3 separate regions of the Homo sapiens genome follow, and all the other regions are linked to region 1. The links are contacts of gene promoters, found by promoter capture Hi-C in human tissues and cell types (Jung and others, 2019). All regions are on one chromosome and are shown on one strand. Each heading gives the region's core, a stretch centred on a gene start or on the middle of the fragment in contact. The rest is flanking DNA. Distances are from core to core; before and after follow the strand shown.

What was found. Contacts are between HindIII fragments. The study calls those that stand out against the background at their distance.
Region 2: a fragment that was not itself captured here is called in contact with the fragment with the promoter of PRIMA1 in region 1 in 1 of the 25 tissues and cell types used here (dorsolateral prefrontal cortex).
Region 3: a contact is called between a fragment that was not itself captured here and the fragment with the promoter of PRIMA1 in region 1, in 2 of the 25 tissues and cell types used here (spleen and thymus).

Annotation. Positions count from the first base shown.
Region 1 is chr14:93,787,004-93,790,238 of GRCh38, reverse strand. PRIMA1 (proline rich membrane anchor 1) reads left to right here and starts at 1,754. Exons shown (of 5, transcript NM_178013.4): 1 at 1,754-1,829; 2 at 2,490-2,613. The coding sequence starts at 2,521. RefSeq lists enhancers at 251-962, 963-1,676, 1,677-2,388. The HindIII fragment of the contact is 12,037 bases long and covers 1-3,235 here.
Region 2 is chr14:93,748,571-93,752,212 of GRCh38, reverse strand. The region is part of intron 3 of PRIMA1 (proline rich membrane anchor 1); the gene reads left to right. Among named protein-coding and RNA genes, the nearest start is that of PRIMA1, 38 kb to the left of the region's middle. RefSeq lists an enhancer at 2,573-3,446. The HindIII fragment of the contact is 8,916 bases long and covers 1-3,642 here.
Region 3 is chr14:93,839,747-93,843,227 of GRCh38, reverse strand. No RefSeq gene overlaps it. Among named protein-coding and RNA genes, the nearest start is that of PRIMA1, 53 kb to the right of the region's middle. RefSeq lists an enhancer at 2,820-3,358. The HindIII fragment of the contact is 6,425 bases long and covers 1-3,481 here.

The DNA of each region.
Region 1 (3,235 bases), core at 505-3,004:
GAAGGATTGAATAAATGTCTCCATTTCTTTGCACAAAGAGTTACCAATGCTTGAGATGTTCCCCTACTCCCAGGAAGTCACCCTCTCCTGGGAGCCTTTACTCAACCCGCCCTCCATTCCTGTCTTCCCCTTTCTCGGGGCAGCTGTGTGTGACATGCCAGTGCACAGTGGAATGGTTGGTTTTATCCATCTCCCTGACAGGCCCCTGAATTCTTAGGGGGGAAGGAACAAGGTCTCATTCACATTTGTCCCTGCATCTTGCTGGTTGAGGTGCAATCTGCAGCCTCGGGGCGGCGCTCTGGCATGAAGGAGGCCGCTAAGACGTTGTTCTGAAAGCTGGCTTGCAAGGTAGTTTATACTCTGCAAACCAGCGTTTATAGTGTGTGTTTACATGAGTGGCTTAAGGGTGTCCAAATACCGGGAAAAGGTGCTCAGTAAATGTTTCTTCCATGCATGCACTGTAGTATCTGACCCTCAGCTCTGTGTCTTAAGCCCCTGGTTCTCTCATCCAACCTAAAAATAGGATTGTCCAGGCCTTGAGGGCCTTCTGGAAGGCGCCCCCATCAGTCAAAGCGCTTGCAAAGTGCTTCCACCACAAGAGCAGAGAGGCCGCGCCATGCCTGTGATGCTGCTAGGCACAGCTTGTCTGAAAGAGATGCAACCAGGCTACCTCCCGAAGAACCGACTTGTTGATAATCTTGCCTCAAACAGAGGAGTTTGCAGATGGTTGAGGAAGAGCAGTGGTAGAAATGTTCTCCCCAGGGCCGTCACAACTCCTTCCCAGCCGCAGCCTAGTGTTGCAAGAGAGTTTCTGCTGCTGGGACTACAAAGGAGAGGACAAGGCCCATGGCCGGGAGAGGGGCGGCCTGCACCTTTCAGCCCCGGCGCCCGGGAGAGCCTGCGGGGAGTGCGGCGGGGAGAGTCCTCAAGGATGGAGCGCAAAAAAGGGTCTCAAGTCAGTCCTCGCCACCTTTCCGCAGCCTCGGGAGAGGCTTGGGGGAAGCGCAGGCAAGGGCCAAAACCCCATGGAAGTGGGAATCCTCGGCCTCCAGGGTGAATAAATAATTAAGCGCCCAATACACAATAGCCTCGCTAGATGGAGACGAGGAATCACTGCAGCGGCGCTGGCGGCGGCGGCGGGGGGAGCGCAACCCCGGGCGGGAGGCGGGAGAGGCTCTGGCTCGGCTCACGTCTGTTTTCCTTTTTCGTGGATTATTTATTTCGCCTCCACCCACGGCTTTGCTGCCCCAGCGGGAGCTCCCTGCCGGCGCCTCCCGCCGCTGCCTCTCGCGGGCCAGCGTGAGGGTAGTAGAGAGCTCGGGCACCCCAGTGCCCCGGGCAGCCGCGCGGCGCCACCAGGAAAGGCGGGGAGCCAACGCGGGCCCGGGGAGGGCTCGCGCGGCCGGCTCCAGGCGGCGTGGAGGAGACTTTCCCCGCCCTCTGCCTCCGCCTCGGCGGCCAGCCCTGGCCCTGGGAGCGGGGTGCCGCCCCTCCCGCCCCGCGCGCGGCTAGGCGCAGTCCGGAGCCACCGCGCCCTGCGCCCCGTGCGAGGACGCCGCTCCTGGTCCTCTGCTCAGCGGCCCGGGAGGCCCAACCGGCGCGCAAACTTTTGCTCCAGCGCCGGGCGCTCCTCCCCGGCATGTGAAGCCCCCGGGCGCCCGCGCAGCCGCCAAGGTGAGGACGGAGGCCCCGCCTAGAGGGCGGGGGACTGGGGAGGCGGCTGGCTTTAAATGGGGGCTGTCCGGCTGCTGGGAAACAGAGCTGCCGCGGGGGGAACGCGGACCTCTTTTCCCCGAGCCCAGGGTCGGCTGGGGCCGCCGCCAGGCAAGGTAGCGTGAGGCGTTGGAAGGGTGCGGGCGGAGATGGAGGCGTGGGGGAACCCACGCCCGGGAGCGGGAGATCGGGGCTGGGCGGAGGCGTGCAAAGGGGCAGCGCACGGAGGTGCCTATGTTGCAGTGTGCGCAATGAGGCCGGCTGGGCAGTGTGGGTGCAGGCAGCGTGAGATTTCTTGGGGCCGTGCATGCAGGGTCAGCGAGGGTGCAGGCAGGAGTCGGTGGGTGTGCACGGGGATCAGTGTGTGTGCACGGCTGTTTCTGTGGTTGTGCGCGCAGGTGAGTAGTGCCCGCCGGGTTTGAAGTGTGCTCACAGTGAGAGTGAGTTGTATGGGGGTTAATGGGGCGCAGTAAGTGTGCTTGGCTGTTTCTGGAGGTGTCCATGGGGCCAAGGTATGCACGCAGTATTCTGGAGCTGTGCGCGGAGCTAAAGTGTACACGCGGGGCTCTGGGGATGTGCGTAAGAAGAGTGTGAATTCTGGGACTGACGAAGAGTCAGTGAAGGTGTAAGCTGGAGTGTAAGTGCAGGCTTGGTTTACTAGGGTGCCCCTGGGTGCGGGGCGTGCCCGTCCGACCCGGGCTGGGAGGTATATTGGTGCGCGGCGGCGGAAGTGCCTGCGCGGTGTCCGCCTGACCCTAGCCTTGCTCTCCTGACAGTTCGCCCCAGGAGCGGGCGCCGCTGGCCGAGATGCTCCTCCGGGACTTGGTGCTGCGCCGTGGCTGCTGCTGGTCCTCGCTGCTGCTGCACTGCGCGCTCCACCCGCTCTGGGGCTTCGTGCAGGTGAGACGCGCCGGCTGCGCACTGGCTGGGAGGGCCTCCTGGGTAAGGGGCGAGCTGTCCCTTCCCTCCTGAGACCCTGGCCTCTTGCAGCCACCCCACTGATTGGTTCTCGGAAGAGCTTGGGAAAAGAAAAGCTGCTACGGTCCCCTATACCCTACCCCTGAAAAGATAAGAAACTCCAAAGAGAGGCTTCGATTGTGGCCTAAATCCTGCAGGACCGGGCTGGCCTTGGAATGGAAAGGGGCTCAGAGAATACCTTCCAATGATAACATTCTAGGGCAGAAATTCAGCAAAGAAACAAACTTACAAAGAAAAATGATCCCAAGGATATATATTATTTCTTTCTCACCAGAACCACTGATGAACTTCAAATTAGCTTTCTTAAACTGGTTTTCAACACGGAAGGCAGCCGTGTTTCTTATAGGTATCAGAGTTGAGGATGTAGACAGATAATGCATGGTGGCCCATCTGTCAGGACTGCCCAGGGTTGAATCTCTCACCCTGGGTCCCTTAAATCCCAGGGCAGAGGCCAGGCAGCCACTAACTGGAGTTACCTCTTAGGGTCAGAGAGGGGTTTCAATGGGGTGGTCCCTAGTCCCCCCCAGAATGCGCATCGTCACTG
Region 2 (3,642 bases), core at 111-2,610, 38 kb after region 1:
GGATCTGAGAATCAAATAAAAGAATCTAAGGAAAATGTGCTTTGAAAGTAGGTAGCACTGGCAGGATCCGGGTGGCTGTCTCCATTTGCTTTCAGTAGGGTAAGAAAACGGCTCCTGGCTGCCTTTCTGGAAAGAGAAGCGAGCATCCCACCTCCCAACACTCTGGACGGCCCAATACACTTTCTGCGATGGTGGAAATGATCTAGGTCTGTGCTGTGCGAAATAGTAGCCATTAACCACGTGTAGCTATTGAGCACTTAAAATATGGCCAGTGCAACAGAGGAACTGAATTCTTGATGTATCTAATTTTAAGGAGTTTAAATTTAAGTAGCCACATGTGGCTGGTGGCTACTGTATTAGACAACACAGCTCTGGACTGTCAATACGGATATTGTTTTCTTCAATACTACGTATGGTTTTGTCCCAGAGCCACAGACATTTCAGGTTTATTCCTTTTTTAACAAAGACCAACTGAGCAGCAGTGATTCTTCTCAGCCGTGTCATCATCCCTTTTTGGTCCCAACTTGGACTCAAATCATTCTTAGCTTAACCCTACAGGACCCTTTTAAACAGGACTTAGGCTCTGTCCAGAGACTAGCAAAGGGTGGTCCTGGGAAGGAGTCATCTAGAATGTGGAAAGTTCACATGCATCTCATTGGGATATAATTTCATCTCTTGTTTGATGCTTTAGAAGGAGGCCAGGAGCTTTCAGCATCTTGGTAACCTCATGTCTGGGGTTCCTGATGTGGAACCTGTCCTCAGACCCTAACGCAAGAATTTTTAAATGAAGTGCTCCCCAGGAGAGACTGAGGAGGCAACGGAAGTGGTAGGGTGGAGCAGGGGGGAAGCCGAGTGAAAGCACCATCTCAGGCCAAGTCCTGCAAAGGCAATTTCAGCCTATAGTTGTCCCCAGCCAGGCTGTCACACTTAGCACCTGTCAGTTACTGGTGGAGGATGCTCTGCAGGGCATGGGACTTCACTTCCTGGGCTCCCCACCTTGTGCATAGCCACCCTGGCAGCCCTAGTGCAGACCCTGAAGAAGGGCTGCAGGTGCCCGAAAAGTCAGACGTGTAGCTTCAGGTGACGCTTTTCTGCCTCCAGAGCAGAGTCCCTGCGTCCCGGCCAGCAGGTGGGAAGCAGCTCCCCCGAGCCTTCCAGGGAATGTTGTCACCCTTTGACGATGGGAAACTGAGGCTTGTAAAATGTAAGTGCTTTGTCTGGGGGTTTCTTAGTGGGTATGGTGTGGCCAAGTCAGGATCCAAATTTGTGCCTGTCTTTCTGCTGTGCTTTGCTTTCTGACCACATTGTCACCATGAAAACTCCGAGGCAAGATGGAGCCCTGTGCCCCATGCCCAGAGACTTCCACCTAGGCCTTGGTGTGACATTTGGGGTAAAGGGCCTTTCTAAAAATAATACGGAAGGAGTGGGTTGTTTACTTGCAAAATACAAATTTGTGGTATAATTTCAGGACACTTTCAGACCACTCTTCTAAGCTTGTCTAAGAATCTCAGGTTAAGACTCCTCTAAATTAGGGGTAAAAAAACTTTCTGTAAAAGGCGAGATAGTGTATCTTAGGCTCTGCAGGCCATACAGACTTCCATGGACAAGGTGTAAACAAATAGGTGTGTCTGTGTTTCAGTAAAACTTTATTTATAAAACAGGTGGTGGGCCAGATTTGGCCTTCAGATCAGTGTCAACCACTGGTCTAAGTTGACCCTGAACCCCTCTGCAAAGTGATTACAACAAATTAGACAGAGCACGTTCTACCTGATGAAGCATTCATGAGGGCCCCGTCATGTTTGTTTTGAGACAGGGTCTTGCTCTGTCACCCAGGCTAGAATGCAGTGGCATCATCATAGCTCACTGCAGCCTCAAACTCCTGGGCTCAAGCCATCCTCTTGCCTCAGCCTCCCAGTGCAAGTCCCAAGTAGCTGGGACTACAGGTGTGCAGCACCATGCCCAGATAATTTTAAAATTTTTTGTCGCACTATTTTTTGTCTCACTATCCCAGCAAATTTTTTTTTTTAGACGGAGTCTCACTGTATCTCCCAGGCTACGGTGCAGTGGCACGATCTCGGCACACTGCAACCTCTGCCTCCCGGGCTCAAGCGATTCTGTTTCTCCTGCCTCAGCCTCCCAAGTAGCAGGGACTACAGGCATGTGCCACCATACCTGGCTACTTTTTTGTATTTTTAGTAGAGATAGGGTTTCACCATATTAGCTAGGCTGGTCTCGAACTCCTGACCTTGGGTGATCTGCCCGCCTAGGCCTCCCAAAATGCTGGGATTACAGGCATGAGCCACTGCACCCAGCTTACTTATCCCAGCTAATTTTTTAACTTTCTGTCTTGCTATGTTGCCCAGGCTGGTCACAGACTCCTGGGCTCAAGCTATCCTCCTGCCTTGGCCTCCCAAAGTGCTGGGATTACAGGTGTGAGCCACTGCACCCAGCCTCATCACCTGTTAATTAAGTGCCCCCATGAGAGAAAGCAATCTATTGAGCATCAACTAGGTGCTGGGGCTCTGCTGGGCGTTTAATATATACCATTGGGAGCATTCTCCCTTCCCAAGGTCACGAGCTCTCACAAGCAAAGATGAGCTCATTACGTTCAGTCAGCTCACACTGGCTCTCCATGTCAAGTCATTCTCATTTTTGTTTGTCAGCTTCCTGTTGTTGTTACCAAAGTCACATGTAGTTAAGTGTCTCGGTGAGCTGGGAATCAGTCTGCATTTACTTGGTGATGATTTAATGAATGTCCAATTTCCAGTAGATTATAAGCGTCATGAGGACAGGGTCCATCCTGTCCCCAGTGCTAGCATGGTGCATGGCACACAGCAGGCTCTTAACAGATGTGTATTGAGCGAATCAGTGAGTGGATTCGCAGCTGAATGAGGAGGAGTCATCAAGGCAGCGAGGGTGGGTGGGCACAGTTCTGCATGTGGCCCCCTCTCGTTGCTTCTCAAAGGCACTGGGCTGCCCTAAAGCTGGCAAGTATGCGGACCTTCTGCGCAGCCGTGCGTCTGCAGCCCTGGTGGGAACAGAAGGCCTGGCAGATCTGGGGAGGGGACCAAGGGCCAGGACAGAAAAAGGGTGGAATGCAGCTACTAAAAGAGAGTAGATGCTGTTGAGTAACAAGGCCTTGCCTTAAGGAGTCTAACAAAGAGGGCTATTTGGGCAAAAACAAGGGGGACGTGTTCTCCAGTCGCTACCAGAAGCGTAATTAATTCTATCAGGCAGTGTCCTGCTGTTCCCGGCTCCTGCCCCAGCCTCCACCCAGACCCTCCCTTGCACCGGGAAAAGCTGAGGCTGCCCCCACCAAGAGACATAAGCCCGATTCATAATTTTCCTTTCCTAATTAGGCACAGGAATGATGGAGACAATTATTAATAATGTATTGGGGTTTTTTTTAATGTCCCCTCAGGAGCCGAGCCTGAGAACAGTGCCCTTGATGATAAGCAGCCAATCTGCCACCACACTGGGCTCCGCGCACAGAGCACCAGGCAGAAATAGATAAGCCAGGGGAGCAAGTGGCCCGCAGAGCACAGGCTACAGATAAGGAGCCATAGATGGAAGGGCACAGAGCCCCTCACCCAGGGCTCAGGAAGGGCCTCGGCCACCAGCCAGGGGGGCAGAGAGGCTCCC
Region 3 (3,481 bases), core at 127-2,626, 53 kb before region 1:
CTCCAATCACAGACCCATCACTCAACCCCATGCCCCAGGAAAGAGCAATGTCAGCAAGACAAACCTCTCAGAGATTTGGGAAGCGCCACCCCCTTCGTGGTTTAATGCTGGATGTTTATGACAATGAGGTGAGCCCAAATAAGGCCCCAGTAGAAATTTGACTATGGACTCAGTACCAGGCCATATTAGGGAATTATAATTAATTTTGTTAGATGTGATAATAACATGGAGGTTAAATAAGAAAATATCCACACACTCCCCTCTTTTTTGAGACGCACATGGAAGTATTTATGAGTGCAATGACATCAAGTTTGCAATTTGCTTTGAAATACTCTAGGGGAAACTGAGGGTAAGGTAGGGATAAAGCTGGCATGGCAAAATTTTGATGGTTGTTGAAGCTGGGTGCTGGGCTCAGGGCAGCTTACTCTTCTCTCTACTTTTGTATGTTTGAAAATCTTATAAAAATACAACATAAATGTAAAATAAATTATAAATAAGTAACAAAATAGTGTCCCTGGGAAGCTGCCTAAGGTCCTGTGGAGTTAGTCAGTGGAAACAGAGGGTGCTAAAAATAACCAAGAGATTTATATGGTTTCTCCCATGACATCTTTGGTAATTTATCATGGATACTCACATCTACTCAGTTTGCTCTCCAGACGTCCTGGATGGAGCTTGGTCTCAAGGAGAGAAAGGAATGCTGCCACTCTTATTTGAACAAGTTCTCTTTCAACTTCTGATCATGGCATGGGAAGGAAGTACCTTTCCCTGACCCCTCTCTGCGGGGTTCAGTTTCTCCATAGGACATTAAGTGTAACAAGAACTGCTGAGTCCCTCATAAGGTCCTTGCAAGAATCAGAGAAAATGCTAAGACTAAAAGCACTTTTTAAAAAACCATGTTCAAAAATGAACTGTGCTCGGTGTACAAAATTTAGAAACAAAGATAATCAAAAGAAAGAAAATAGAAATCATGCACAATACTTCCCGCCTGCCCATGTAACTATTGTTGTGATTTGAGGTGTAAACTTTCAAGTTTGTTGTTGTTGTTGTTCACCATATAGGTGGTTTTGTTTTGTTTTTTTTTTTGATTTACAAAAATGGGCTCAAATTGTGTAGTCTTATTTTTTACCATAACACGTCATGAACGTCGTTTGATATTATCATACATTTTTCCACAATATTGTTTCGTATTTTCATCATTGCTATGTTTTCCATCATGTGACTATAGGATAATTTATTTAACCCATCTCATTGTATCAGTTTTCTAGGGCTACCATAACAAAGCACTGCAAACTGGGTGGCTTACAAAAGAAAAAAATGCGTTTTCTTGCAGTTCTGGAGGCCAGCAGTTCAAAATCAAGGATTGGTTCCTTCTGGGGGCTCAAAAGGAGAATCTGTTCCAAGCATGTCACTCCCCTAGCTTCTGGGGTTGCCAGCCATCCTTGGCTCATGGCGGCATAATTTCAGTCTCTGCCTCTATCATCTCGTGACTGTCTTCTCTGTGTGTCTCTGTGTTTCTTTCTCCAATTTTTTTTTTTGGGGGGGGGTGAGAGGGAGGGGAGACAGGGTCTTACTCTGTCACTCAGGCTGGAGTGCAGTGGCGCCATCATGGCTCACTGTAGCCTCAGGTGATCCTCCCATCTCAGCCTCCTGAGTAGCTGGGATTACAGGCACACGCCACGATGCCTGGCTAATTTTTGTATTTTTGTCGAGATGGGGTTTTGCTATGTTGCCCACGCTGGTCTGAAGCTCCTGGTCTCAAGCAATCCTCCTGCCTTGGCCTCCCAAAGTGCTGGGATTTCAGACATGAGCCACTGTGCCTGGCCTTCTTCAATTCTTATAAGGACACTAGTCATATTGGATTAAGGTTCTATGCTACTCTAGTACAACCTCATCTTAAGTAATTATGTCTGCAGTGACTCTAATTCCAAATAAGTTCACATTCTGAAGCTTTAGAGGTTAGAACTTCAACATATCCATTTGGGGGACACAAACCCAAAACTTACTCACATTGTCAGGCTTTTAGGGTATTTTGGTTGACATTTTTGCTATTAATAAATTAGGTCACATTTTTTTTTAACACATCCATGATTGTTTTCTTAAAATAAGTTCCTAGAAGTAGAATTTCTAGATACAGACTGTATCATCAGCCAGAATTTGGCCAGGAAAAGGAAAATCAGAGGTCTTTTCAAAGAGAGAGGATTTAATATACGGAATTGACTGTGCAGGTGTTGAGAAGATGCAAAGTAGGCTGGGTGTCGTGGCTCACACCTGTAATCCCAGAACTCTGGGAGGCCAAAGCAGGCGAATTGCTTGAGTACAGGAGTTTGAGACCAGCCTGGGCAACATAGTGAAACCCAGTCTCTACTAAAAATAATAATAATTTAAAACAAAATTAGTCAGGTGTGGTGGCGCTTGCCTGTAGTCCCAGCTACTCAGGAGGCGAGAGGATCACCTGAGCCTGGGAAGCCGAGGCTGCAGTGAGCCAAGATCACATCACTACACTCCAGCCTGGGTGAGAGACAGAGAGAGAGAAGAGACAAGATAGAAAGCAAAAGATGAAGAGGTAACCCAGAGATTAATAATTGCAAGAAGGAGCTGCCATTCCCAGGTTTGGGGGAAAAAAGAAAAAAAGACATGGAGCGTCCAGAACTTAGGCATGTGAAGGAGGAGGCTCCCTAAGGCTCATGCTCAGACCTTCAGGGCAGGACACTGCAAGATCTGTGCTTGGAACTCTCAGGGGGCGCCTGCGGCCACGCTCAGACATCTGAGAGGAGGGCACTGACCTCTGAGGCAGCACCACATGCCTGGTGCTTGGGGTGCAGGTGGCATGGCTGCTGCTGGAGGGATGCAGACCTCAGTCAGAAATCAAAACAGAGTCCCTTCTCCCCTCCTCTCACCATTCAATCTCCACCATTGCCTCCCATTAGCAAACTGGAAGCCAGCAAGGTATCTGGAAAATGAAGTTTGCAGACTTCTAGCCCCTGCATTACCGAACAGAAATGGTGTGGGCAGGAGGTATGAAGATGAGAGGCAACAAATAAACAACTGTCCTGAAGGCTTTTGATATGCATTCTTCCATTGTCTTCCAGAAAGGCTCGATCAACTTACACTGACACCAGCAGGCCATGGAAATGCCAGTTCCTAAATCTCAATAACACTGAAGGTTATGATTTTAAATTTTGTTTTCAGTTTGACAGGAAAAAATTATACTTTGATTTGCTTTGCATTTCTTTGATTTTTAGTGATGTTGGATACGTTTCCTATGTTTTTGGCCACTATATTTATTACTTGTTTTGTAAATTGTTGAAATACAAAACTAAAATAATTAAAGTGTCAGATTGTATGTCCTTTGACCATTTTTATTACACTATTTGCCTTTTTCTTCTCAATTCATAACACTATGCATGAAGGATATTAATCCTTGTTCTACAATACATGCTGCAAATAATATTTTCTCATAGTGGTTTGACATTTAGTTTTA